2 separate regions of the Homo sapiens genome follow, and region 1 is linked to region 2. The links are contacts of gene promoters, found by promoter capture Hi-C in human tissues and cell types (Jung and others, 2019). All regions are on one chromosome and are shown on one strand. The core of a region is centred on a gene start or on the middle of the fragment in contact, and the rest is flanking DNA. Distances in the headings are between cores, read along the strand shown.

Region 1 (6,646 bases), core at 3,016-5,515, 140 kb after region 2:
CGTGGCTGACCACCCTCATGGCCAACCTGTCTCTAGTCCCTCCAGATGTCAAGCTGATGTGCCCAAACTCCCACCCTAAAACCACAGTGTGAGCAGACTCTGCCATAGCCCAAGGCCTCAGGCACACAATGACACTCTTATCAGGCAGGATATTCTCCTGCAGGTCACCTCCCAGGAGCTGGGGACAAAGGTCAGACCTCTCTTGGGGCCAGCTTAACCCTTTTGCTGTACAACTCCTCATGCAAAACCAAGAATGAGCATGGGGTTCCCCAAAAGAAGAGCAGAGGCCAGGCGCGGTGACTCATTCCTGTAATCCCAACACTTTGGGAGGCCGAGGCGGGTGGATCACTTGAGGTCAGGAGTTTGAGACCAGCCTGAGCAACATGGTGAAAAACTCTGTCTCTACTAGAAATACAAAAAAAAAAATTAGCCAGGCATGGTGCCTGTAGTCTCAGCTAGTTCGGAGGCTGAGGCAGGAGAATCACTTGAGCCTGGGAGATGGAGGTTGTAGTGAGCCAAGATGGCGCCACTGCACTCCAGCCTGGGCAACAGAGCGAGACTCCATCTCAAAAAAACAAACAAACAACAACAACAACAAAAAAGAAAAGCAGAGTCCCCACTCAGTGTCCACTCCTGGCCCAGGGGCTGTGCTCCGAAGCCTGAGTGCCTCCAGCAAAGTGGACAGGAGCTGGGAATTGTGGGCAAGGTTTGGACAGAGATGGGGCTTGGGAACCATGAGAGTTCTGTGTGTCCCCAGTCCTGTAGATTGTCCCCGCATCCCAGGTTTCCTGTGGCCCGGGGACATAGTGTAAACAAAGCTGCTTCAGGGAGTTCTTGCCCCTGATGTCTGGCCTCCTGGGAGCTGGCAGCTCAGCCCGTGTAGAAAGCACATGTGGCATGAGTACCTGCTGTGTCACACGTCGTGTGTCCCTCTCACACCCGCCTGTAGCACTCACTCTAGGTCGGGGACACAGGTCCAGGAGGGGTCACAGCCTTTAGGGCCATATAGTCAGTGAGAGGTGAATGTAGCACAGGTTTCTGTCATGCTACTTGGACACAGAAGAGGGTGGAGAAAGTCACGGGAGGCCACAGGCGACCTATGCCCAGGTAGGTGTGGGGTGGGAGCTGTAGGACCCCCACCCTACACCCCCTCCCTCTGCCACAGCCCGGAGCTGGCCTGTTTCATCTGGTGTGACTGCTGGGAGGGACACTGTGGATGTTCATTGTGTATGTGTCTGGCCAGCGGCCACCAAGGGCTCCCAGCACAGACCCTGGGCCTCACCCCCAGGCCCTCGAGAGCCACCCAATAACACACAAGGTTAATCTTACCATCGGCTCCACTTCAGCTCACAGGAAACAGCTGTTTACCTGGGCGAGGTGCTCAGCCGGGCAGGTGGCCAGTTCCCGGGCTTTACTTCCGCCTCCGGTGTCCAGGGCCCCCTAGGAAGCTGGGGCGGTGGGGCAGCCAGCTCTCCACGCACTGCCAGGAGCTGTTTGTAAGGAACGAGTCGGCCTTGTTGTGTACACAGTGTCCACCCTAGCAACCGCCCCTGCCGGGCCAGAGTGGACAACCACCCCTCCTTCCTGCCTGCCCAGCCCCACCTCTCCTCACGGTGGCTGCCTCCCCCAGTTGCATGGCAGGCATCATGGACCAGCATCCCCAAGGGCCTCGGGTCGTGCCACATGGGTCAGGGGCCTCTGTTACTGGCAAATCAGCATCAGCCACATGAAGGGGAGGAGGCCAGCTTCCAGCCCTGTTCAGAGTCAGCGTGACCCATCAGGGAGCTCCTGGCCCCTGGTTCTGTGCCCCGATGCCATCAGGGAGTGGGAAGCAGGGATGCAGCTGAGATGAAGGCGCTCAGCTGGGCCCAGCCCCCAAGAGGCTGGGAAGGACCATGAGGAAGGAACATGGGGCTCAGGACCCTCTAGAACTCAAGCTGGGTCTGGGGGACTGACTTGGCTGCCCTGGCTCTGTGTGGGCTGCCGTCGGGATCACAAGTCCCACGCTTTGAAGGCCATCACCACGCTTCTGAGACAGCTTCCTCCGATTCAGGCCAGTGGGAAGCCGCCTGGCCTGCCAAGTCACAGCCTCTGGCCGTGATAAGAAATGGCTCCCCTGGGCTGGTGAGGGGCCTCCTTGGCAGGCTGCAGGCCCGCCAGTGCCTCTCTTGCCCATTCACTGACTGACCGAATCAGCAGCAAGGCAGCCAGCTCCCCAGGTTCACGGTCATGGGTTTCTGCATGGTGCATTGCCCCGCCTGGGGAGCCGTCCCGGCACCTCGGGTTTCTGATTCTGCCATTTTTGGTGGAGGGACACCTGGTTTCCTTAAGCATCTGGGTCATGAGGTCCTGCAAACTTCTGCACTTAGGCTGTCAATCCCACCACTTGGGTCTTTTTGTGCCTTTGGGGCTGGCACTCTGAGGTGAGCCTGGGAGGTGACCCCTCCCGCAGCTGCTGGCTTCTCTCTCGCAGCTCCAGCTCCAGAAATCCCAGTACCTGCAACTGGGCCCCAGCCGAGGCCAGTACTATGGCGGGTCCCTGCCCAACGTGAACCAGATCGGGAGTGGCACCATGGACCTGCCCTTCCAGGTGAGTGCCCCGCCCCCTGGCCCTGCCCCATTGTGGGGAGCTTCCCCCAGCCTCCCACTGGGGGCCAGACATTGAGGACAGCTGGGGTTATCAGACAGTTGGCGGAGCCCACCCAACCACTGCCTTCTCCTTGTCTGCCCTGGGAACCAGAGGAAGCAGAGTGGCCCCACCAGGGTGCCCCCGCAGCCCATTCCCCATCAGCAGACCCCGAGGCGAGCCCTCCATCTGGCCTCCAGCATTTCGGCAGCCGCTACACCTGTTGGCCGGCTGTGCGGCAGCGGGAACCGCTCGGGGCCACTGGGGCTTGGCTCTGTCCTGCCTCACTAATCCGCAAGCCCAGCAATTCTCAGAAGGAGGCCCGGCGGCCTGACCCCACTTGTCTGCAAACGTTTCTTGGCAGAGGCCCACACAGCGCGGCTCCCGCAGGCCGCACAGCCGCCGTGCACAGCCTTATCGTAAACAGGAGATAAGGCCCACAGCGGCCCTCTTCCCTGTCCCTGGTCTGCGGGTGGAGATGGGGATGGGGTGGGGCCGAGGGAGCTGGCCTATGAATCAGGGCCACCCCCAGGACGGTGTCTGGGCTCTGCATGGACAGGTCCCCCTGGGGGGGGGTCACACCTACTCTGTGGCTGAGAAAACCACCTCGGACACAGCCATGGCCACTGACAGGCCAGATGGAGCCGGGGCCCCTCCCAAGTCACCCACCAGCTCCACCGCCACCTGCACCGCCGCTGGACAGGGCAGGGATCCTTGGGCTGGCCACCACGGTGCGCCTCCTCCGGCATACAGAGTGCGGGCCATCACTGATGCTGGGCGTGTTCTTTGTCACAGCCCTTCCTGGCCAGGTTTTCTCCCCTCCTGCCCTTCTCTCCCTTTCCTGTTTCTCCTGTCCCCTCTTCCCTGGAGGAGAGTCTCTCTCTGGGCACCTTGCAAGCTCAGCCTGAGTGGGGCTGAGGGGCACAGGACCCTGTTGGGTGTCTGTCGCCCGAGGCCCACAGCCCGGGGGGAGGTCCCACGCATCCCGCCTTTGGGGCCAGGCAAGGCAGCAGCGTCTCAAAGTCTCGGTTCTTTGCATTTTCAGCCCAGCGGATTTCTGGGGGAGGCCCTGGCAGCGGCTCCTGTCTCTCTGGTAAATGAGCCCCCAGGCTGAGGCCGCGGCGTCCCCGGCGCCAGCCTGCAAGACCCCGACCCGTGTGCGGGCGCTGGGGATCCCTGAGCTCCCCAAGCGGCCGCCCCTGCGGCTCCCAGGGAGGTGGAGGTGTCCCGTCCGCCAAATGGAAATGGATCCACTCCGCACCCCCATCTCGGGAAGTGCGTATGGTCGCGTCGAGAGGCCCTGGGGACTCTTGGGGTCCATCTGGGGCAGATGCCATAGCCGCGCATCCCCATCTGGGGTCCAGCAGAGCAGAATCCCAGCATGTGCCCCAAAGCTGCATGGTCCGTCCCTATATACACACACACACAAACACACACACACACACACACATACACACACGTGTGCACGCATCTCCCAAACCAGGCCAGCAGGCAGGACGTGGCGAGCCCGGGTGTGGCCAGCCCCCGCTTCATTCTGCCTCTGACTTGGCTTTGGCTGCCTCAGTTTCCCTCTGGGCTTCAAGGCATCTCTGGAAGGAGATGAATTGCCCCTACCCTGAGGAGCCTGTGCACTGGACAGCACAGTTCCCACCCTCATCGTCACAGGCCCACGTCTCCCATGCCCACAGCCTTTTGGGGGCAAGAGCCACGGAAAGACCCAAACCAGCAGAGTTCATGCTGGATCGAAGAAAGACTTGGGGGTCCCCAGGGCTGGGGACAGTAGTCAGCCCTGAACTCTGGCCGAGGCTGGGACAAAGCAGCAATCCTAGCCATGGACAGGCTTCTGGAGAGGAGACTCACTTTAGTATCAGAGTCTCATTTTGCCCGGCTGCCCAGAGAAGGCATAAGGGCTCAGGGGCCAGATGGCCGGACTGGGGGATTGGCTGCATCCAAAGCTGGCAGAGCCTGCTGATCTCACCCCAGTCAGATGGCAAGTGGGCAACACAGGGTCAGGGCGGGCTCCTGGCAGCCCCGGGGGCATGAGGCCGGGCATGTAGCAGGGCCTGGGGAGGGCCAGCCTGGTGCCAGCCCCAGGTGCTGGGAGGAAGCCCCATCCAGCCAAGCAGTGGGCCATGGCTCCGGAAGGCGCCTGTACTTGGCTCTGGTGGTGCCTGGAGTGCCTGGAGGAGGCTGCGGGGGAGGGTGTGTGGGGGCCGCGTCTCAATCAAGAGCAGCCCTGGGCTCCACAAGGAAGCCTCCCAGGAACTCGCGCTTGGCCAGGTGGGCCCCGAAACAGTCCTGGGCTGGAAGCCCCTGGGCTGTCTCTTGGCAGGCCCCTCCAGGGATGACGTAGGTGGGGGTAGGAGGCCGTCCAGGCCCGGAGAGAGAGGGCGGAGGCCTGTCTGCACCTGGTGAGACTGGGGAGGAGGGCTGCCTAGGCCGGCTACATCCCTGGCACCCGGCGGGCGCTGGCCCCGAGCTTGTGCCGCTCTGCCTGGCCTGTGCATGCCAGCTGCACTGCACGCCCCTGCCACCCTGGCTCCCGGGACCCCAGCTCACACCCCCTCCCTACCCCCCAGTGCTTGGAGAGCCAGGGAGCTGGGGCTGAAGGAAGAAGCCCATCCCAGGCTGTGGAGCGATGGCCGAGGGTGCTCCAGAGTGGGGGGCCCTGCGATCAGACTCTGGGGCCAGCGCTGGGGCCACAGCTGGTAACCATTGTTTGGATTTCTCTCTCTCTGTTTCCATCTCCTCCTCCCCCAGACCCCCTTCCAATCCTCGGGCCTGGACACCAGCCGGACCACCCGGCACCATGGGCTGGTGGACAGGGTGTACCGGGAGCGTGGCCGGCTCGGCTCCCCACACCGCCGGCCCCTGTCAGTGGACAAACACGGACGGCAGATATCCTTTTCACCAGAGGATGAGGGTGGGGGCCAGGCCCTGTCGGTGCCGGCAGGACCCCAAGTTTACCCAGCAGGTTCTGACAGGGCTGCCTGCTTCCAGCTCTGGGGACAGAATCAGGGCAGCACCATCTGGGAGGCTTGATCTCAGGGCAGCCTGGGGGACTTCCTGGAGGAGGCTGTGCCACAAGCCCTGGAGCCTTTGGCCAGACTTGGGGGCTCAAGGGGCACAGGGAACAGCTCTCAAGGCAGGAGTTGAGGAAGGTTATACCTGACCACAGAGGGCTTAGACACCTGGCAGGGCAGTGGGGCCAGGAAGGCCGTGAGCAGGGAGCCCACAGTCAGGGCTGTGAGCTGATGAGGCCTCTCCTACGCGCTGCACGGAGGGCAGCCCAGCCAAGGCAATGGGGCTAAGGGGGTCTGTGTGAGACCCGGACGCATCCAAGGGAGGCTCCATCTCTGTAAGACAGGAGTAAAATTCGCCTCTGCGACTCGGTCACGCAGAGATCAGCCAGAGTCCCCCCCTCCCCCCCAACTCAGCCGCCCCTTGGTGCTCAGCCAGCCGGGCCCCACAACACCAGAGTCTGAGCGGCCTCAGGTTGCTCCCGGGATCCCCCGGCTCTCCAGAACAGAGAAGCTTGTTCTCCGGTTCTCATTTCCGTGGGCTGGGGGAGCTTGACCAGCTGGGCCCCAGACTGAGCCCTTGGGCCCCAGGAGCCACCCCGTCAGCCCAGGATGGAGAGTCCAGACCAGGGTCAGCTGAACTCAGACTCCACAGCGTCCCCACAGGCCCTACTTTCACAGCCCAGAACCCCCTCCCTTGGAAGGGGTGCAGCCCGCACGTGTGCTCACGGAGCAGAGTGCTGAGTGCTAGGTGGACAGGGCTGTACCCCTGGAGAGCCCCTGGAACGGGGGCTGCTTGTAGCCAGGCAGGAAAGGCCGGCAGGAAACGCCCCCCGCCCTACTGGTCCCAGCTGTTTGCAGGCCTCAGGCCGACCCCAGCCAGCCAGCCGGGGCTTCCTGCCCTGGGCTGAGAGTGTGTTGTTGGAGGCGGGGTCTCAGCCAGTGGCACTGCCCCCTTAACTCACCTCACGCCGACAGCTGCCCCTATGGCACCATGTAC
Region 2 (7,318 bases), core at 4,138-6,637:
GATTACAGGCACACATCACCGTGCCCGGCTAATTTTTGTATTTTTAGTAGAGATGTGGTTTCACCGTGCTGGTCAGGCTGGTTTCGAACTCCTGACCTTGTGATCCGCCTGCCTCAGCCTCCCAAAGTGCTGGGATTACAGGGGTGAACCACCGCGCCCAGCCTGTATTTTTAGTAGAGTCCAAGAATCGCCATGTTGGCCAGGCTGGTCTCGAACTCCTGACATCAAGTGATCCACTCGCCTCAGCCTCCCGAAGTGCTGGGATGACAGGCGTGAGTCATTGCGCCTGGCCTAACAGCACCATTTATTGAGCACTTGTTGTGTTCTGAATACTGGGCTAAGACTACCTACATTTTCTCGGCCAATCCTGCTTATATGTTAAAGATGAAAAAACTCCGGCTCTGAAAGATGGAGTTTCCTTGCTGGAATGAGGGAAGGCCATACTAGTTAGGCCCAGATTTTCTGGTCTCCAAAGTTCTGTTCCACACTGCCTACCTCTGGAACTAAAGGCAGCCCTGGCAAACTGCACGTCCCCAACTCCCATCCAAAGGGACTTGACATCATCGCTGTTTCCCTCCACTCAGTTTTCCTCATCTGCAAAGTGAGAACGAGAAAGCTCTTTGTCTCCTGGGGTATTGTGAAAGTCAGAGGGGAAAGGACTTCCTGAACCAGGTTGTGTGTGAGTCAGGTACTAGGCACAGGAAACTTGGGGACGCCCATGGGTGGTTGATGCCTCTCTCTCCTGCTGGCCATCAGGGCAGCCCAGGAGTTCCCCTTCTGGAGACCAGAACCTTGTCCATAGGGAAACCAAGGCCCAGAGGAGGAGGGGGTGCACAGGCCAACCTCCCAATGCCTCTCTGAGTCTCAGTTTCCCCATCTGGAAAGTGGACATCATGGCGTCAATGTCATGGGGTTGGCTGGGTGCGGTGGCTCATGCCTGTAATCCCAGCACTTTGAGAGGCTGAGGTGGGAGGATCACGTGAGGTCAAGAGTTTGAGACAGCCTGGGCAACATGGTGAAACCCTGTCTCTACCAAAAATACAAAAATTAGCCAGGTGGGGAGGGGGTGGTGGCCCCATGCCTGTGGTCTTAGCTACTTGGGAGGCTGAGGCAGGAGGATCGCTGGAGCCCGGGAAGTTGAGGCTGCAGTGAGCCATGACTGCACCACTGCACTCCAGCCTGGGTGACAGTGAGACCCTGTCTCAAAAAAGAAATAAAAAATTTAGATTTAAATTTATAAAAACCAACAAAACAAACCTCATGAGGTTGTTTGAGAGGAGTGAAAATATTGTTGGAGACAATATTTTCCCATGAGATCTTTAAACCAAGTTGACCTGGACTCGAATGCCCCCAGCCTGACTCAGTGTTCTACTTTTTTTTTTTTTTGAGACAGAGTCTCACTCTGTCACCCAGGCTGGAGTGCAGTGGCACAATCTCGGCTCACCATAACCTCCACACCCAGCTAATTTTTGTATTTTTAGGAGAGACGGAGTTTCGCCATGTTGGCCAGGCTGGTCTCGAACTCTTGACCTCCAGTGATCCACCCGCCTTGGCCTCCCAAAGTGCTGGGATGACAGGCGTGAGCCACTGCACCCGGCCTCAGTGTTTTACTTCTTTGAGCCTCTGGAAAGGGGCTTCTCGTTCCACACAGAGTGGTTGTAAAGACTCATCCACGCCTTTGTTCGTTCACGCGTTCATCTATTCATTCACAGGGTACCTATAGTGTGTCCGGATCTGTGGGCACTGGGGTGATGCCCAAGACACACAAAAGTCCTGCCCTTGTGGGCATCAAATCCAAGGAAGCAGCAGGAAAAAGGAATAAATAAATATCTAAGACAATAACTAGGGGAGAAAGTAAAGCAGGGGCTGGAGGAAGACAGAGCAGCGGCAGAAGCTTGGGAGGCCTGTCTGGGGAGGTGACCTTTGAGCAGAGACCTGAATAAAGTAAGAGAAGTAGCTGTGACATTATCTAACAGAGCATGTCCAGGCAGTGGGAGCTGCAAGTGCCAAGGTCCTGGGGCAGAAGCGGTGGGAAATGAGGTTTGAGAGGTCAGAGACCCTGACCTGCAGGGAGGAGGGATTCCAGGGTTCTCAGCCGGGGAGGGAGGGATGCGGTGAGATATGCGTTAAAAGGACTCCCCAGGCGGCTGGAAGAAGGGACTGCAGGAGGCAGGGGCAGCCCAGCTTCGCAGAGATGGCAGCCAAGGACAGGGTGATCCTGGCCCCCAGGGAGGCCCCCTGAATGCCAGCGCTGCCCTGCACTTGCCCTCACTGCCCCAGATGGGCGAGGTGGGGTGGACACGGTTCTTGGGCCGGCCCTGATGATTTTCCGGGGCAAACTTGGCTCGAGGGCTCTGTCTCGCTGGAGCCTGGAATCGCAGTTGCGCTTGGGGCTTGGCCCAGGGCTCGCCGGAGGTCTCCGCGTCCGTGCGAAGGAGCCGGCTGAGCGGGCCAGAGCCGAGGAGGCGGGGGCGGCCGAGGGGGGCGGGGGGCTGGGGGCCAGGGGACCGCCCTGGAGGTCCCAGGCAGCCAGCCGCCCGCTAATTCGGAATTCCTTTTGCATGAACTCGGGTGTGCCAGCGTCTCTGCCCCGGCCCACCCACCGCTTCCTGCCTGGGCCCCCCCAACAGAGTGGGAGGCACGGCCAGGCCTGCCCAGACCCCAGGCCCCTCTCAGCCCTTCTAGAGTGGGTCTCACTCCTCCTGCCCCCACCACCCGCCAGCTTGGCCTGGGCAGGAAGGGGCTCTCTGGGGGGTCCTGGCTGGGGGGCGCTGCCCCTCTGCCACACCCGCCTGGCCTGGGCCGGCGTGGCTCACTTGCCAGCAGCTGCAGCTGCCCTCCCGGGGCTGGGCGGGGGACACCGGGCGGCGACGGGTTGTAGGGGGAAGGCAAGGCCAGGCGGGCCTGGACAGACCAATCTCCCACCCCCTTAGCCCCAGCCGGTAAGGTCAGAAGGACACTTTCTCCTCCCGGGATATGGGCGCAACACCAGTGGGAGAACCTGGCCAATTGACTTCCCCTCTCCAGTTCTCAATTTTCTCCTCCATAAAATGGGAGGAGAAATACGTTCTACTTGCTGGGGAGATCAATGAGATGTGATTGCAATCCAATGTCCAGAGGGCTCAGAAGCCTGAAGCCCCCAGGAGCTGCAAAGATGACAGCCCCTCCCAGCTCTGGGGTCCCGGCTGACTAGGCACTCCCTCCAGGCCTCCACAAACAATGGGCTAAGGCGCTGGGGACAGAGATGCACGCACTCCAGGCCAGGCAGGGGAGCAGCTGGGAACAGCCCACTGAGCCGGAGTTGGTGGGGGCTTGGCTTGGTTTGGAGGGCCTCCTAGGGCTCCCCAAAGCAGATCCCTAGGTTGGGCTTTTGAACAGCTCCCTTTTCACTCCCTGCCTCCCCTCCTTTCCCGCAGAGCTGGGGCCTTTAAAAGTTTTTTCTCTCCTCTTTTCCCAATCTGGAGCCACTGCCGTTATTAAAAAGGAACACCATGTGTTTTAAAAGGGAAAAGTGTGAGATTCTCTGCAAGCAGGGCGGAAGGGTGGCCTCCATCCCAGGGTCCCCACGGGGGTCCCCATCTCCCGTCCCGCTGGTACCTGCAGACACTTTACGACCCACCCGCCTGCTGGTCAGGTGCTAAGACACACCGTAAGTAGAAACATATTGCCGAGGTGTGAGAATCTTTTATTTAATTTCTTCCCCCCTTAAAGGAAAAAACACACTTACAGTGCCCCCCCACCCCCTACACCTTCGCCTGCTGCTCTACTGGCTGAAAACAAAGCTTGGCGCTCACAGTGGCACTCACAGGCGCTGCCCACCGCCTGGCAGAGCCGTCAGGGGCCCTGGGAGGGCCCGAGGTAGCCCCTCACCTGAAAGCCAGGGGAGAGCCAGGCTTTCAGCAAGTGCCCCTAGAAGATGCCCGGACCCTGCCCCTTCCCGGAGGAGCCCTACAGGCAGCCCGCAAACAGCCCAGCACAGGGTGGATGAGCCTGGGAGCAGTGTGTGCCCGGCGACCCCCGGGGTGGCCCGTGCGCCTGGATGGGGTGCGTGGAGTGACTGAACATCTGGGGCGAGTGGTGCCTGCCTCTGTGCCCCTGGGTCGCCTCCCCTGTGGGATGTGTGTGACCGTGAATGTGTGTGTCGGGGATGGAATGTGTGTGCGTCCGCGATGGTGCGCGAATGTGCACCTGGGATGCAGTGTGCGCGAGTTTGAGGGCGAGGGTGACGGGCCACAAGCCAGTGTGATTCTTTGTGTGTCTCTGGGTGTGTCCCAGAGCGGGTCTGCATACGGAGACGTATCCTTGCGGGGGTGTTCCTTGGATGGGGGGCCCCAGAGTGCCTGAGGCCAGAAGTCCCTCCAGGGCAGGGGTCTTGGCCCGTAGGGCAGCGGGTTCCCAGTGGGCCCCCTCAAAGTTTGGGCCCGCTGGTGCCCGGACTCACTGGCTCCCGCTCCCTCTCCCTCTCACCCACTCGCTCACAAAGATTCCTCTCGCTGGAGGCTCTCCGCCCGACGCAGCCTGGCTGAAAACGGTTCTAAGCGCCGCCGGTGGCGGGGACTCCGCGGACCCCCGTGCGCCGGGTCCCGCAGGGGGAGGGCGGTGGCGCCGGCCCGTGGAGACACAAGTCCCCCGGGACCCCGGGCTGCGCGCCAGGCGGCCAGAGCGGCCCCCCTGCAGCCCCGCCCTCCCCGTGGGGCTCATCCCTCCGCCTGGGGGGGCCCGCTGGGGGCCCGCACCCAGCGCGCCAACCGCGTGCGCCCCCGCCTGGGAGCGGTGCCCTGCAGTCCCAGGGGCCCAGAGTCCACCGAAGCAGACGCGTGCGCCCGCCACGTCCTGGCATGCAGAGGGTCTCAGGCCGCGATCCCCCCAGCCCCCGGGGGCCTGGCCTGGCGCCCTCGGCCCAGCTGCCCAGGTAACAGGGCCTCGGGCGCGGAAGCAGGACTCTCTGGACAGTGGACTGCGGCGCCGTGTGCCCCGCAGGTGAGGGCGCCCCGAGGGCTGCGCCGGGGGCGCCTTCCTTTGTTCCCCGGCCGTCCAGGTGGCGCCCGCGCCCCCTCCCCCCGCGGCTGCCCCCGGGGCGCCCGCCCTCTGCTCTGGCAGGGGGGAAGGAGTGGGGCGCCGGGTACTCACGGGCTCCTGATCCGGCTCGCGGCGCCCCGAGGACGCAGAGCAGCAGCAGCAGGGGCAGCAACGGCGGCGGCCGCCGCGCGGATTGGGCGGCGGGGCCCCGGCGGCCGGCGGGCATGGGGCCGGCGCTGCCGGGGGCGCGCGGCGGGCTGCGGCTCGGCGGCGGTGGCGCAGGGCGCGGGACGCAGGCCGGGCGCGGGAGGGCGCGGGCCAGGCCGCCCGCACGTCGCTGGGCGCGGACGCGGAGGCCGGAGCAAGTCTGAGCAGCCGAATTGACAAGGCGCTAATGCGCCGCTGGCCCCGCCCGGCCCCGCCCCCGGCCCGGCCCGGCCCCGGGGGGGCGGCGGGCCCCGCACCGGCCTCCCCGCCGCCCGCCCGCCCGCGGGCACCGCGCGCCCCGCCCGTCCCGCCTCCGCCCCACCGAGAACCGCGCGCGCCCTATCCCGCGGCCCAAAGCCCCCTAACTCAACCCCTACCGGCCCAGGACCTCCCTCTCCAACCCTGCCAGCTCCAGGCTTCCCACCCCCAGTCTGGGACCCGGCACCCCCAATCCCGTTTCCATAACCCTGCCCACTTCCCTGCACCCTCCTCTCAGCCCAGTGCCTCTTCAGTGGCCCCTTTGGTCCCCAACCCTGCCCCACTCCTCCATTCCCCCTTCCACGGCCCAATCTTCTGTCTCGGCCCCCACCCCAGCTCTGGCCCCGCCCCCCCCACCGAGCGGTCCTTGAGTCCCGCCTACCCCCATCTCCAGCCCCTCAGCCTTCCCAGGGGCCTAAAAGTCACCCCCAGCCCCACGCCCTCGGCGCGCGGGTTCCAGCCCTCCCACCTCATCCTGCCTCTTTTCGATTCTCCGCGAGTAGCCTCGGCCCCAGGCTTTGCTGGAAGAAAGGAGAAAAAGCAGGAAGGCACGGAGTCCCTCGCCTTCGCCCTGGCTGCGCTGTCCCCTTCGCGCGCGGGATGGGTTTGAGGTTGCTCTGGGCGCCCCGGGGGCCTCGGGAGGGAGCTCCTGCGTGGGCAGACGGGGAGATGTAGTCCCCTGTGGGAGCCGGGACCCAGGCCTGCGCGGGAACTGGGTCCCGCACCGCAGTAAGAGGGATTCCCAGGAGGAGAGCGGTAAGAAGCTCTTTCCCCGGGACCTATTCACACCCCGCCACGGAAAAATCCACTCAGCGGCCCGCGGGTGGGGTGCGCCACGCGGTGAGTAATCGCTTCGGCGGCCACCGCCCGCCGACTCCAGGTAACGCCGGCTGCCCGGAGCGACGCATAGTTTGTCTTCCTTCTTTTGCGCAAAGAGCCTTCTCCGTGTTATTATTTTTGGCCATTGCTCGAGTTTCGGGACCCCTCCCGGTCCGGGCGTCTCATCTCCCTCCTCCCGGTCCCCACCCGATGCGGGCGCCCAGGAATAAAGGGTTCCTGGCCTCCAAGGCTGCTGCGGATGGGGGTGCCTGAAATGAGAGTTGGGGGGTGCAATTACCCACTTTTGGTCGCAGCCCCGCCCCCAGCTGCAGCGCCCAGGGAAGGGAACGGCTCCAAGTCCCCTTTTCCAGGAGTCCCTTAGAGGCCTGGATTCTCTCTCCTGGTCCCCAACCAGCCAAGGGGGTAAAAGTGTCTGAGGGGGGCTCAGGAGCCCCCATTTGTCTGCCCAAGACTGAAGCCCCACCCTCTCCTACTTAAATCTCCAGTTCAGACTCCAGACTGTCAAAAAACAAGATTGGGGGATGGGAGCCTATAGGGGCCCAGGGCGCCCCTGCTCCATCTGAATTCTGGATGGAGAAGACAGACAAGGAGAGACGCTGCCATTTACTTCGGGAAACCAGGCCTTTTGTGCCTCAGTTTCTTCCTCTGCACAGTGGGCACCACCCAGTCTAGGAGCTTCTGTGGGAAGACGCAGGGCAGCAGAAGTCTCTACAATCCAAGCCCTTAGCACAGCACTGGAGGATATCCTGGAGCAGAGGTGACCCCCAGCCCTGCTTGTCCCCTCTGAAACATGGAGCCATAGTCCCACCTGCCAGGGGACCCAGAGGGTTAAGTGGAGGTGGCAGTCCTTGGCTGGAATTGAGTTTTTAGGATACTCACCACTACTCCCCCATGGCTCCTGTCTGCAGATGCTCTCTGTGTGGATAGAGACGCCTCACTCCCTCCTGGGAGGACTTCAGGCTTCTGGAGCAAAACCTTGATTTTTTCCTCCCTC

Evidence for each region. Contacts are between HindIII fragments. The study calls those that stand out against the background at their distance.
Region 1: a contact is called between a fragment that was not itself captured here and the fragment with the promoter of CRLF1 in region 2, in 1 of the 25 tissues and cell types used here (spleen).

The regions. Positions count from the first base shown.
Region 1 is chr19:18,740,437-18,747,082 of GRCh38, forward strand. CRTC1 (CREB regulated transcription coactivator 1) reads left to right here. Exons shown (of 14, transcript NM_015321.3): 2 at 2,474-2,590; 3 at 5,387-5,524; 4 at 6,617-6,646. Among named protein-coding and RNA genes, the nearest start is that of COMP, 48 kb to the right of the region's middle. The HindIII fragment of the contact is 7,147 bases long and covers 693-6,646 here.
Region 2 is chr19:18,601,412-18,608,729 of GRCh38, forward strand. CRLF1 (cytokine receptor like factor 1) reads right to left here and starts at 5,388. Exons shown (of 9, transcript NM_004750.5): 1 at 5,131-5,388. The coding sequence starts at 5,245. RefSeq lists an enhancer at 4,510-5,428. The HindIII fragment of the contact is 9,492 bases long and covers 2,839-7,318 here.